Regions from separate parts of the Homo sapiens genome. Here regions 1, 3, 4 and 5 are each linked to region 2. Evidence: promoter capture Hi-C in 16 types of primary human blood cells and fetal thymus (Javierre and others, 2016). All regions are on one chromosome and are shown on one strand. Each heading gives the region's core, a stretch centred on a gene start or on the middle of the fragment in contact. The rest is flanking DNA. Distances are from core to core; before and after follow the strand shown.

What was found. The method cuts DNA at HindIII sites, captures the fragments that hold promoters and counts their contacts. A CHiCAGO score of 5 or more calls a contact.
Region 1: a fragment that was not itself captured here is called in contact with the fragment with the promoter of CLEC18C in region 2 in 1 of 17 cell types (M1 macrophages); the score reaches 8.7 in M1 macrophages.
Region 3: a contact is called between a fragment that was not itself captured here and the fragment with the promoter of CLEC18C in region 2, in 1 of 17 cell types (M2 macrophages). The highest score is 8.0, in M2 macrophages.
Region 4: a fragment that was not itself captured here is called in contact with the fragment with the promoter of CLEC18C in region 2 in 1 of 17 cell types (M1 macrophages); the score reaches 8.9 in M1 macrophages.
Region 5: a fragment that was not itself captured here is called in contact with the fragment with the promoter of CLEC18C in region 2 in 10 of 17 cell types (M1 macrophages, erythroblasts, M2 macrophages and 7 more); the score reaches 27.0 in M1 macrophages.

Annotation. Positions count from the first base shown.
Region 1 is chr16:74,477,173-74,479,872 of GRCh38, forward strand. GLG1 (golgi glycoprotein 1) reads right to left here. Exons shown (of 26, transcript NM_001145667.2): 12 at 224-361. Among named protein-coding and RNA genes, the nearest start is that of CLEC18B, 57 kb to the left of the region's middle. The HindIII fragment of the contact is 2,859 bases long and covers 1-2,700 here.
Region 2 is chr16:70,172,521-70,175,220 of GRCh38, forward strand. CLEC18C (C-type lectin domain family 18 member C) reads left to right here and starts at 1,267. Exons shown (of 13, transcript NM_173619.4): 1 at 1,267-1,431; 2 at 1,653-1,882; 3 at 2,427-2,518. The coding sequence starts at 1,759. It overlaps LOC400541 (a long non-coding RNA gene), which reads right to left and starts at 928. Exons shown (of 3, transcript NR_126007.1): 1 at 608-928. The HindIII fragment of the contact is 29,094 bases long and covers 1-2,700 here.
Region 3 is chr16:74,437,135-74,439,918 of GRCh38, forward strand. No RefSeq gene overlaps it. Among named protein-coding and RNA genes, the nearest start is that of CLEC18B, 17 kb to the left of the region's middle. The HindIII fragment of the contact is 7,294 bases long and covers 1-2,784 here.
Region 4 is chr16:74,349,911-74,352,610 of GRCh38, forward strand. It overlaps the pseudogene PDPR2P. Among named protein-coding and RNA genes, the nearest start is that of NPIPB15, 25 kb to the right of the region's middle. The HindIII fragment of the contact is 3,869 bases long and covers 1-2,700 here.
Region 5 is chr16:74,303,137-74,305,836 of GRCh38, forward strand. PSMD7 (proteasome 26S subunit, non-ATPase 7) reads left to right here. Exons shown (of 7, transcript NM_002811.5): 6 at 1,167-1,258; 7 at 2,153-2,700. The coding sequence ends at 2,597. Among named protein-coding and RNA genes, the nearest start is that of PSMD7, 7.7 kb to the left of the region's middle. The HindIII fragment of the contact is 736 bases long and covers 1,007-1,742 here.

The DNA.
Region 1 (2,700 bases), core at 60-2,559, 4.3 Mb after region 2:
AATAACTATAATGCAAACACAAACTCACTGCCAACTATTCCTGATACAAAGACCAGAGAGAAAATTTTCCTGAGAATTTCTTCCAGAGAAAATATTGAACAATACAACAAATCACATCTGTAAGGTAAAGAGAGATGGATTTTATGGTGTTTGTACTCTGCATAAAATGTTAAACATTAACATCATCATTATTGTAAGACAAACAGAAAGCGATGTCACCTACCTGTCCAGTCTCTGTTTTCTCACTGCACCATTTTCCCAGATCAATCAGGCACTTATCCTGGAGGGCAGGATCCAGCTTGACATCCATGGCACGCTGGTGTAGGATCCTTTGGACTTCAGCTCGGCACTCCCGTGAGAGCTGCATGAGAAAAAATGAGCTAAATACTTGAAAGGTAACAAAACAAAAACACAAAGATATGAGATAAACCTGCTATGAGGAAACTAACAAATAACCCTGTATTTTATCTCCCAAATTTTATACCTCAAATATCTTCCAGAATAAAAATTAAATGTTGCGGCCAGGTGCGGTGGCTCACGCATGTAATCCCAGCACTTTGGGAGGTCGAGGCGGGCGGATCACCTGAGGTCGGGAGTTTGAGACCAGCCTGACCTACATGGAGAAACCCTGTCTCTACTAAACACACAAAATTAGCCAGGCATGGTGGCACATGCCTGTAATCCTAGCTACTCGGGAGGCTGAGGCAGAAGAATCGCTTGAACCCGGGAGGTGGACATTGTGGTGAGCTGAGATTGCACTACTGCACTCCAGCCTGGGCAACAAGAGCGAAACTCCGTCTCAAAAAAATAAATAAATAAATAAATAAATAAATAAATAAATAAAATGTGCAAGAGGCTTCGAAAAGCCCATATCTTTAGCAATGCGATTATACATATTCAGCAGTTTCTAATATACTATATAAACAACATTCTTTTATGACAGTATCCTGATAAAAGTGAACTGGCTTCATTCAGACTAGGTTAGTTGGAAAGTTTTGTGTTTGTTGTTTTGCTTAGCAAAACTAATGTGTCAGTCTATGAACACCAGGTAGAAGGTCAGATCCAATTCAAGAGAGCATATACACTTGACTCAGGAGAAATGAGTTCAAATTGACCTAAATCAGAAAAAGCAGGAAAATGTAGATATAACATTATGAGATAGGACTGGACTCTTCTAGATGAGCTATGAAGAATTAGCAGAGGGTAAAGCAGGTGAAAACTAGTATTTTTCCAAGGGCCATGACAAAGCTGTTATTGACAGATACAGTTAGTCTCTCTTGCAAAAAAAGAAAAAAAAGCCAGCATACCTGGGGCAGGAGGGATGGAAAGTAACTGTTTAATGAACACAGGGTTTCCTTTTGGAGTCATGGAGTGTTTTGAAACTAGACAGACATGATGACCACACAACACTGTAAATGTACTAAATGTCACTGAATTTTTCTCTTTAAAATGGTTAAGACCAGGAGCGGTGGCTCACACCTGTAATCCCAGCTCTTTGGGAGGCTGAGGCGGGCAGATCACCTGAGGTCTGGAGTTCGAGACCAGCCTGACCAATATGGAGAAACCCCATCTCTACTAAAAATACAAAAATTAGCCGGGCGTAGTGGCGCATGCCTGTAATCCCAGCTAATCTGGAGGGTGAGGCAGGAGGCGGAGATTGTGGTGAGCCGAGATCACACCACTGCACTCCAGCCTGGGCCAACAAGAGTGAAACTCCGTCTCAAAAAAAAAAAAAAGGGGGGGGTTATTTTGGCCAGGCGCAGTGGCTCACACCTCTAATCCCAGCACTTTGGGAGGCCCAGGTGAGTGGATCACCTGAGGTCAGGAGTTCAAGACCAACCTGGCCAACATGGAGAAACCCCGTCTCTATTAAAAATCCAAAAAAAAAAAAAAAAAAAAAAAAAAAGCCAGGCATGACGGCAGGCACCCGTAATCCCAGCTACTCGGGAGGCTGAGGCAGGAGAATCACTTGAGCCAGGAGGAAGAGGTTGCAGTGAGCCAAGATCACACCACTGCACTCCAGCCTGGGGTGCAGTGAGACACATTCAAGAGTGAGGCTTTGTCTCAAAAAAAAAAAAAAAAAAGGTTAATTTTATGTTATGTGAATTTCACCTCAATTTAAAAAAAAAAAGAAAAGAAAACCAGCACCACAGACTCCAACTCTTTCTTATTTAAAAGAGAATAAACCTCCTACCCCCTAGTCACTATAGTGACCAGAAAGATGCCGGGATGTGGGAGCCCCCATGGTTAATGAGAGGCTCATTATATGGAGAGAAAAAAAAAAAAAAAACAAATTCCCACGTTTTCTCACACAGCAGTATAAACACTGGGTTAGGGAGCAGCAACTGATGTATGCCATTTCCTTCTGAGTCCCCTCATTCTGGATTTGAGATAGCCAGGCTTTTGCATTAAGCTCAGAAGGGGTATTTCTAAGGATGGATGAGAAGTGATACCATCTCAACTCTCCGGAACAAAGGCAGGACTGATAATGGAGCATCTCAGAAGGTAGAGAAAGCCATCGTGGAGAACAAGTGCATGTCAGTGCGCACCGGGAAGCAGCCGATGCTGCCGAGACCCCAGCACACACAAACATCCCAACAAAAAGCAGCAGTTGGGGCAGACAAATACCAAGAGACTGAGGTATGGAGGTTTCTGCTCCAACCAGTCCATGGGCAGACAATGCAAATGTGTTCAGCTGCC
Region 2 (2,700 bases), core at 17-2,516:
GCTACTGCACCAGGTTCTTGTGGCAATAACTTGAACTCACACATGCAAACAGGCTTTGTGAGCTCCATAAACACAGGTGGCTCGGCCAGGTGTGGTGGCTCATGCCTGCAACCCCAGCACTTTGGGAGGCCAAGGTGGGAAGATCCCTTGAGCCCAGGAGTTGGAGACCAGCCTGGGCAAGACGATGAAATCCTGTCTCTACCAAAAAAAATAATAATAATTAGCCAGGCATGGTGGCACACACCTGGTCCCAGCTCCTTGGGAGGCTGAGGTGGGAGGATCACTTGGGCCCAAGAGGTCAAGGCTGCAGTGAGCTGAGATTATAACACTCCAACCTGAGTGGCAGAGTGAAACTGTCTAAAAAATAAAAATAAAAATACATCAAAAAACAGGTAGCTATTAAGCATTGCTAGGACCCACACGCAGTGACCCTGAGGGTGCTGGGTTTCTGTTTGAGGGAGAAGAAACTCCTGAGCCCCTAGGTATTGTGGGGGACATGCAGTTCCAGACCGCCTTCATGGCCTGTATGCCTGGCCTCATCCCCATCCCTGGCACCCATGACGATAGCCACATTCCACTGGTGTTTCCCCAGGAAAGCCAACCCTACCTGCATCTCAGCAGAGCTTCCACGGAGTTGGAACCCCGCTCCGAGAGGGTGTGGGCTCAGGGGCCAGGGGTCACACAAACTCCAGAAGGAGGACGTAGTTGGTTTGCAAGGCTGTCCTTTGCCCTGGTTGAATAACCTTTGGTCTTCCCCGAGAGGAACGTGGGCATTAGGCTGCAGCCCACAGGAAGCTATGTATTTTCTGAGAAACTTGGCCCATGGTGCAGATCTGCTCCAGCTCACTCTGGTGGGATCACGCCAGCCACGGCCGGGCCACGGCACATCATGGCAACGTGCTGCCCACCTGCTACGCCACCTGTTTTTCTAGAGGCGGACGTGATCCCAGCAGGACTGGAGTCAGCCCAGGGCATCACGTGCTCTGGTCCCCGCCTGCTTTGACTCCTCCTGCCTCACTCCCCCCCTGGCCTGTAGTCACGTTGGTGAGGGTGGTGGGCACCGGGGCTGGGCCCAGCCCCCGACCCTGCCCAGACAGACTTTCCTAAGGCACCCTTTTCCTCGTGCAGGTGCGGCCTCAGCCCACCCCCCTTTGAGCCCACAGATTGCACCCCTCTGGTGTGCGGTTACCTCTTGCCTATGTTTAATTCATGGCTGGGGGGTTGGGACGAGCTTCCCAAGAAAGGAAAGAACTCCCCTGGGGTCTTGCCCAGTTTCTGCTCACCAGAAGGACCATAGCCGAGGTCCTCCTCCCAGGGCCCGGGGCTGGGGAGCGGAAGCCATCAGTGGGCTCGGAGGACACTGTCCCAGCCAGGACACGGCCATCGGTCACTAATCTGCAGCACTGGAATGTCCGCAGGCCAATCAGCGGGGTCTCTGGGGGCTCCCCAAGGGTGCTAATAATCCCACAATGATTAGCAGGGGCCGCGGGTCAGTGCACGCCACTCTGCCTGCTGTCGGGGGCGGGCTGGCCAGGCCGAGGCCGGAGCAGGCAGGCATCCCCCGGAGTTGTCTCTTTTCATGCCAGCGCCAACAGGAGGCTGTCTGGACACACTGATTACTCACTCACCAGCCTCCCTCTTTTGTCCACCAGCCCAGCCTGACTCCTGGAGATTGTGAATAGCTCCATCCAGCCTGAGAAACAAGCCGGGTGGCTGAGCCAGGCTGTGCACGGAGTGCCTGACGGGCCCAACAGACCCATGCTGCATCCAGAGACCTCCCCTGGCCGGGGGCATCTCCTGGCTGTGCTCCTGGCCCTCCTTGGCACCGCCTGGGCAGAGGTGTGGCCACCCCAGCTGCAGGAGCAGGCTCCGATGGCCGGAGGTAAGGGACACCTGGTGAGGAGGTAGGTGGAGGCACCATTATGAGCTCTGAGGAGTGGGTGCTAGGAGACTTCTGGAAGCCCGGTCCCAGGCCTGAGCCCCAGGCCGTGCGGGTGGTTTAATGAGGAAGCCCTGGGACAGCCCGGGGGCGGTGAGGGGTGGATGCTGGACTGGGGAGGAAGGAGGAGGAAGGAGGACCAGGGCTGGGGTCAAGGAGGAACGCCGAGGAGCGCTGTGGCTGGGGCCTGGAGAAATCCGTGGCCCGGAGGAGCCCCAGACAGGGGCCTGCGGGAGCCAGGGCTGGCCCCTACACCCAGCCCGCACCGCTGTTCCCTCCCGCCACCCCAACCCCAGCACTCAGCCCACGCCTGCTGTACCTGGTCTCTCTCTCAGCCTCGCTCCATTGCTATGCCCCACGTCCCCTGCACCCACCACACTCCTCTCCCATCTTGTTTTCCAAGGGCAGGGACACATGCTTATTCTGCCGTGTGTTGGGTTCAGGTCCCCCCATCCTCGGGCTGCCTGACCTTCTCTCTCCACCCCAGCCCTGAACAGGAAGGAGAGTTTCTTGCTCCTCTCCCTGCACAACCGCCTGCGCAGCTGGGTCCAGCCCCCTGCGGCTGACATGCGGAGGCTGGTGAGTACCCGACCCAGCTGGGCTCTGCCAGGGGGGTGGCCGGAGGCGCGGACCCCAGAGGGCGGCTCAGGAGGCCACGCCTGTCCAGGTGCCCTTCCACTTGACCAGGGTGGGCAGGCACAGCCAGCCACCTTGCCCCTGAGGGACGGAGGCCCTGGTTGCTGGGGGTCTCTGCAGTTTCT
Region 3 (2,784 bases), core at 285-2,784, 4.3 Mb after region 2:
GACCTCATGATCCACCTGCCTCGGCCTCCCAAAGTGCTGGGATTACAGGCGGAAGGTACTGCGCCCAGCCTTTTTTTGAGACAGAGTTTCGCTCTTGTCACCTAGGCTGGAGTGCAATGGCGCTATCTCAGCTCACTGCAACCTCTGCTTCCCAGGTTCAAGTGATTCTCCTGCCTCAGCCTCCCAAGTAGCTGGGATTATAGGTACGCGCCACCACGTCTGGCTAATTTTTGTATTTTTAGCACAGATGGGGTTTCACCATGTTGGCCAGGCTGGTCTTGAACTCCTGACCTCGTGATCCACCCGCCTCAGCCTCCCAAAGTGCTGGGATTACAGGTGTGAGCCACCAAGCCCAGCCACTATTGGTGTTTTAGCTCCCAGGTGCTACAGATTGTTTGTTCCAAGTTTTGACTCCCCTCTGAAAACTGCCTGCTTTTGTTCAGTTTCCAGAGCTCTTGAGTAGTTCTTTTCTCAATATTATCCAGAGCAAGTAAGTATTTGAAAGAAGATGGCTTGTTAGCTTTCTCCTCTAAAATGGAAGTGATAACCCATCTCCCAAATACTTCACCTTTTATATCATCAATCCTTTTTTTTTTTTTTTTTGAGACCAAGGCTAGGAGGCTAAAGTGCATCTTGGCTCACTACAACCTCCACCTCCTGGGTTCAAGTGATTCTCCTGCCTCAGCCTCCCAAGTAGCTAGGATTACAAGCATGTGCCACCATGCCTGCCTAATTTTTGTATTTTTAGTAGACGCGGGGTTTCACCATGTTGGCCAGGCTGGTCTCAAACTCACTGCAAGTGAGCCTCTGGCCTTGGCTTCCCAAAGTGCTGGGATTACAGGCATGAGCCACTACACCCAGCCTAGAGATCAGTCTTATTTATAGCTTTGTTTTTTGGTAAAACGTACTAATAATGAAAAGCACAAGTGAATCATTTCTCTTTTTACGTGATTTTTTGGGAACATAGTGATGCATATGTGTGCTTTGCTCCATAAGGCAATACTTCTCTTAAAGTCCACCTAACTAAAAATGGAAAATTCTTATGCCTGTAATCCCAGCACTTTGGGAGGCTAAGCGGGGTGTGGATCACGAGGTCAGGAGTTCGAGACTAGCCTGGTCAACATAGTGAAACCCCATCTCTACTAAGAAAAATACAAAAAATTAGCCGGGCATGGTGGCGCACGCCTGTAATCCCAACTACTCAGGAGGTTGAGGCAGAAGGATCTCTTGACCTCAGGAAGCGGAGGTTGCAGTGAGCCAACATTGAACCACTGCACTCCAGCCTGGGCGACAGAGCTAGACTTTGTCTCAAAAAAAAAAAAAAAAAAGAAAATTCTTGCTTTTCTTCCTCTCCTTCCCCTTGGGGTTTGGTTTTAGGCTCTCTGATGATAGCCTATGATCACAATGCTTATGTAAAACCACTCTGGCTTTATCTGCTGATTGATCAGTTCCAACAGCCCCATAGAGCTGTGGGTTTCCTGTTTCATATCTGACAGTGGTCATTCTCAGAATAGTCTTTTCCTATCAACATGTAATTAAATCCTTTTACTGCTGCTCTTGTGAACACTTTTGAACACTGACAGTTACACTGATATGTAACTGAGCAAACTTCGCTTTGCCTTTATTTTAAAGTTGCCTGTGCTCATCAGGCGATCTGATACTCCACATCGAGAAGCTCCAACCTCAGGGTTGTGGGAGTGTTTTTAATTGTTTCCTGCGTTTCCTACCAGGCATTGCCAAGTGACTAGACTTAACCTTCTCAGGAAGACTCGAATGCTTTCCCCTCTCTTACCCTACCCCGTCATTAAGGCATAGCAGATCCTCGAGTTGACCTTTCATACTACTGACTCTCACGTCAGTCTGCCCGTTGGTCAGTTTATGCTTAGTGACTTGTCCTTCAGTTAGGAGACTTATGTTTTCTTGTTTGTTTTTTTGAGACAAAGTCTCACTCAGTCACCCAAGCTGAGTGCAGTGGTGCAATCACGGTCACTGCAGTCTTGACCTGCTGGCTCAAGCGATCTTCCCACCTCAGCCTCCTGAGTAGCTGGGACTACAGGCGTGCACCACCACATCCAGATAAATTTTTTTAAGAGATGGGGTCTCACTATGTTGCCCAGGCTGATCTCAAACTCCTGGCCTCAAGTCATCCTCCCACCTCAGCCTCTTTTTTTTCCCTGCGAGTTGCAATTATAGCTGAGTGAAACAAACTGTAACCGAATGAAAGCAACGACAACAGAATCCTCCCCAGGAAGCAGCTGATTAGACAGGGCCAAACGCACAGACATCTTGACAACCTGTAACCAGCAAGTTCTGGCAAGTTATTGATGGAGGCTCTTTGAAGTTCAGCCAAAGTTGGGATCCACTTGGCTGGGCACGGTGGCTCACTTGAGGTTAGGAGTTTGAGACCAGCCTGGCCAACATGGTCAAACTCTGTCTCTACTAAAAACACAAAAATTAGCTGGGCATGGTGGTGCATGCCTGTAATCCCAGCTACTTGGGAGGCCAAGGCAGGAGAATCGATTGAACCTGGGAGGCGGAGGTTGCAGTGAGCTGAGATTGCGTCACTGCACTCCACCCCGGGTGACTCTGTCTCAAAAAAAAAAAAAAAAAAAAGGGCTGGGATCCACCTACTAATTATTTTACAGTTTCCTTCTCTGCGGCAGAGTGAGAGCAACAGAAAACCCTCCACTGTTAGCTGTTAGCAGATGCCTCTCAGTGTTCTCTGCTGCTTGGAGGAGTGACCCATACACTTGTGTCCAGTGAGTGCTGCACCATGTTGGCCTC
Region 4 (2,700 bases), core at 32-2,531, 4.2 Mb after region 2:
TGAGCAAGTTCAGCCTCTTGAGATTAATTCCAAGTGGCTTATGTGTGCTCTTGCTACAGTGTCAGGTGTGGGAAGTCAGCCTGCTTTAGTTCAATTATTTGGATGGGGAGCAATACTACATTTTTTAAGACATAAAAATTACTTTGAGATCAAAGGAAGAGATATTTACCAGCTAGTCAAAGGAGCTCATGGGAACCAAAGGAGGTCCTTTTGATAAAACGCCTGGGCTCAGCTACAAACCCCAAATAGCAATCACTAAATGAACTTCACGTGGCAAAAGTATTTCTTAGTTCACTTCGGGATCATAGCATGGAAGGCAAGAGCCAATCTGCTTTAAAAGAAGCAGTGTCCCGGAAATTAGTGTCCACATTCCTGACACAATAAAATAGCCTAATATGTTATTTGCTAGGTTGTAGAATGAAATGTAACACCAAGACCCAGCGCCAAGGATTCACGTCAATGCCTGACCATTTGCTGGCCTTCCTGACCAGGATAGCACCCATCAACCCAGTGTGGAGGAAGGACAAGGTCACACAGGCTTCTATTTGCAGACTAAGTGTAGGTTTCTGATTTAGAATACCCTACAAGAAACAGCATAGTTACTGATATCTGTGTAATGAATCACAATACTAACCTTACTTCTCTACACCAAAAAAATCTTGGAGACATACGTTAAATAAGAAAATCAGTGTTGGTGCTGACCTACCTGGCCAGCACAGTTGACAAAATACTGGCATTCAATCTGTCCTTTATCGGTCTCCACTCCAGTAACTTGACCTTTTTTGCCCATTACTTGAAGAACAGATGTCCGGTCATAGATCTGAACACCTGTTCCAAGGTAAAGAAAGAGTTGGTGCTTCATCTGATGTTCCAGAATGAAGGCATGTGCAGCAGGTTCTCCACCCAGAAGAAACACTGACAAAGTCAAGTCAATGCTTTAATTTATTTTTTTATTTTATTTTTGAGACGGAGTCTTGCTTTGTCGCCAAGGGTGGAGGGTAGTGGTGTGATCTTGGCTCGCTCTCTGCCTCCTGGGTTCAAGCAATTCTCCTGCCTCAGCCTCTCAAGTAGCTGGGATTACAGGCATGCACCACCATGTCCTGCTAATTTTTGTATTTTTAATAGAGATGGGGTTTTACCATGCTGGTCAGCCTGGTCTTGAACTCCTGGCCTCAGGTGATCCGCCTGCCTTGGCCTCCCAAAGTGCTGGGATTACAGGCATGAGACACCACGCCCGGCTCAATGCTTTCATTTAAAAAAAAACACAAAACCCTAGAATCACATCCTGAGACTATGTAAATGGGCCTTGTTCGAGATTGAAAATAGCAAGTCAGTTTAAAAACAGACTTTGGAACACAATAATTAAATTCCTGGAATCATAAACTATGGAGCAAAGAGGAGAGGATGTAAATAGTGCGCCTTAAGTGCTAACCTGCTCATACCATGGATATGATACCCTGGACACTAGTTAAGTCTTCCCCTCATTCAATGCAACTGGGCTTATGATTTCAGGTGTGGATTAAACTTCCAAGGTGTGTTTTCACCTTGAGCTTCTCAAGTCCTGTGGGGGAAAATATTACCTTAAGTCCAAAGGGCATTAATTGGCAGGGCACAGTGGCTCACGCCTGTAATCCCAGCACTTAGGGAGGCCGAGGCAGGTGGATCATCTGAGGTCAGGAGTTCAAGACCAGCCTGGCCAATACGGCGAAACCCCGTCTCTACTAAAAATACACAAAAAAATTACCTGGGTGTAGTGGCGCACGCCTGTAGTCCCACCTACTCGGGAGGCTGAAGCAGGAGGATCACATGAACCCAGGAGGCGAACGTTGCAGTGAGCCAAGATTGTGCCACTGCACTCCAGCCTGGGCGAAAAGAGTGAAGCTCCGTCTCCAAAAAACGGGCATTAATTAGCACTAAAAGCAGTTCTTTAGAACTTTAAAAATGTGGCCCTGAGGGAAAACACTCATTAACAGATAAATAAAATTATAAGTGTTCAAAATGGAGGCTGAGTACCCCAAAGAGGATAATCTTTCCAAACTTGAGTTGGTGTCACTTCCTACTGTGAGACACTTCCTTAGGTAATGTCTTCCCTGCTAACCTATCTTAAGAAAATGCAAAAACCTGCTCACCATTTTGGGAGGCAGCACTTGCCAGGGCAAGAGCCACGTCAGCGGAAGACACCACTGCATCCTCAGGAACATGCATGGCCCCCACCAGGTCGTGCACGTTGAGGAGATGGTGAAGCTCGGCCACTTTCTTGGGGGAGATGATCTCAGAAGGGATACCTATAACACTGCCACAGAACACAAGGGACAATGACATTCACAGGCTCTTTGGCAGAGGCCAGTGTGGTAAAGTCAGGACACGCTTCTAGACTCTTACGTACTTCAGCCCTGCGTTGATGCGCTTCAGGGAGATCAGTCGGTCCTGAGTTTGGGCCAGAAAGATTGAGCCTGTCCTTGTGTAACCTGTAAGAAAAATGAGCCCAAATGAGACAGATCAGACCAAATGTAGGACGGGAGAGTGGAAAATCCACTAGATTATAAGTTAGAAGGCCTGTGATGAATCCTGGGACTGCCACTCAATATCCTTGGGCAGGTAAATCAGCTTCTCTGAGCTTCTTTGCAAAATTTTAAGAACTTCAGATGCACTAAGGCTCCATGCCCTGACCAAACATTCTCAGCTCACAGTTTTGTGAAG
Region 5 (2,700 bases), core at 125-2,624, 4.1 Mb after region 2:
GGTGAAGCTCAAGAAGAATTAGTGCCTGTAAAGGTTACCAAGAAATCCCACAACACTGTTAAAGGTTCTGACCATCCTGGCATCCAAAGCAAAGAGGAGAATGCCCCTTGCAGGATTAACACTATCCTAAATAAAATAATCACGGCTAACTTTTATAGTACTTAGTGTGAGTTGAGTGACTTTCCCAAGGTCTTGGAGCTCGCCTATTACATACATGGCAGAGCCAAATTTGAACCCAGGTAGCCTGGCTGTGGAGCCTGTACTCTTACCACTATGCTGTCCTTCCTCCCTTACAGACAGTTTACAGCCTTTTGACAGGAGACGTACAGCCTCTTCTGGCACAAGGTCTGAGAAAAGTATCTTCGAAGTCCCTTCAGGATGTCACTGGGTGACCACCATGAACCATGTCCCCAATGGATCCTTTGATTAATTCAGACCACCAGAAAGCCAACTATTCTGATTGCATTGGTTTGGGCACTGTGGAATCGTTTGATCCAAGAGACAAAAAAGGGCTAAAAGTTTTATTTTCTGGCATGAACTTGCTTCAGTACAGATATTCTGTATATTGTCCATTCTAGAAAGAACTATATACTTTTTTTTTTTTTAAGACAATCTCACTCTGTTGCTCAGGTTGGAGTGCAGTGGCGTGATCTCGACTCACTGCACCCTCCACCTCCCAGGTTCAAGTGATTCTCGTTCCTCAGCCTCCAGAGTAGCTGGGATTACAGGCGCCCGCCACCACACCTGGCTAGTTTTTGTATTTTTAGTAGAGAGGGGTTTTCGCCATGTTGCCCAGGCTGGTCTCGAATTCTTGGCGTACCAAAGTGCTGAGATTACAGGTCCGTGCCTGGCCAAAGCGGTATACTTTTAAGAATCAACCTGAGACCTCCCTGTGCGTTCATGCCAAGTGTGGGCTTGAGGGAATTTCCAGATTTTTCTCAACGCACAGTGCCCCAGCAGACTGCATCACTGAGCAGCACCACAGTGATGTTAGCTTTGAAGGCTAAGCTTTCAAAGTAAGCCTTACCCACCCTTGCCATAGAAAATTCTCAGTCATGCACTCATTAAATGAGCTGACTTAAAGCAAAAGACTCAGGGTGCGAAAAGGAACACATGTCAGTTCGTTTGTGGAAAATAAATAATTATAGTTAGGCTTCCTCTCCCAGGATGGAACTCCAACCTCGAAAACATTTGAACACGTGACCAGTGAAATTGGAGCAGAGGAAGCTGAGGAAGTTGGAGTTGAACACTTGTTACGGTGAGACCCTAGTACAGCATCAAAATCATTCACTGCCCGAGAGGTCACACAGTGTAAGGAAGAGGTCTGTGTCGGGAATATGGAGACCTGGGGTCTCGTCCTGGCCGTCCACTAACAAGTCTGCCATTCTGAGCAAATCACAGTCCCTTTCCAGACCTTTGTTTTATTGTCTGTAAATTGAAGTGTTTGAACTACATCAACTGTAAAATGTCTTGAGTTACAATTTATGACTTTGTGGATAGCATACCTTGTCTGGAAACTATAATGTTGACTGACGGGAAGAGAGGTATGAAATAAATGCAGGCCTGCACTCTCCACTAGGTGTCCTTCTCAACAAATGTAGCCCATTTTCTGGAGAGAATCTTCATCTTGGAGTAGCTTTTGTTTTAAAATCCTATATCTATTATAATCCTTATTTGAAAAAGGTTATAGTTTTATCAGTCAATGAGGTTCCTTCTAGTTCTAAAAATTACCATCTTAGTTAAGCTTCTCAATATTCTGGAGATGCATGTAGAGAAAATGCCATCCTTTTAGGAACAGGAAAGCTGAGAGAGACAGCTTCAGTACAAGGTTACCCAGAAAGTTATTGGTAGATCTGAACTGTTGACCTAAGCAATTTTTTTTTCCTTAAGTGGAAATGGTTTTATTTTAGCTCCCTTTTATAATTGTTTTTTGAAAAATGTCCTGTGATGAGAAAGATAAAATGTGTTCCAAATGATAACGAAATTAAGGTAATTGATAACGAAATCTTTATCAAATGGGGAAGTGACATTTTTCTTTTAAAAACTTGCCTCACCCAACAAAGCTAGGAATTTTCTTAGAATGTAAGAACTTGCCTGATAACATGGTACCCTGATGCCTTTTCCTGCCCTTTTTAACTGTGGGTTATTACAGAGATATCAAAGACACGACGGTGGGCACTCTGTCCCAGCGGATCACAAACCAGGTCCATGGTTTGAAGGGACTGAACTCCAAGCTTCTGGATATCAGGAGCTACCTGGAAAAAGTCGCCACAGGCAAGCTGCCCATCAACCACCAGATCATCTACCAGCTGCAGGACGTCTTCAACCTGCTGCCAGATGTCAGCCTGCAGGAGTTCGTCAAGGCCTTTTACCTGAAGACCAATGACCAGATGGTGGTAGTGTACTTGGCCTCGCTGATCCGTTCCGTGGTCGCCCTGCACAACCTCATCAACAACAAGATTGCCAACCGGGATGCAGAGAAGAAAGAAGGGCAGGAGAAAGAAGAGAGCAAAAAGGATAGGAAAGAGGACAAGGAGAAAGATAAAGATAAGGAAAAGAGTGATGTAAAGAAAGAGGAGAAAAAGGAGAAAAAGTAAAACATGTATTAAATAGCTTTTTTAATTTGTAAATTAAAATCTTACAAACTAAATCAGTGTGCTGCTAGAGGGTTCTTTTTCACTTGACATGCTTATTAGAAAG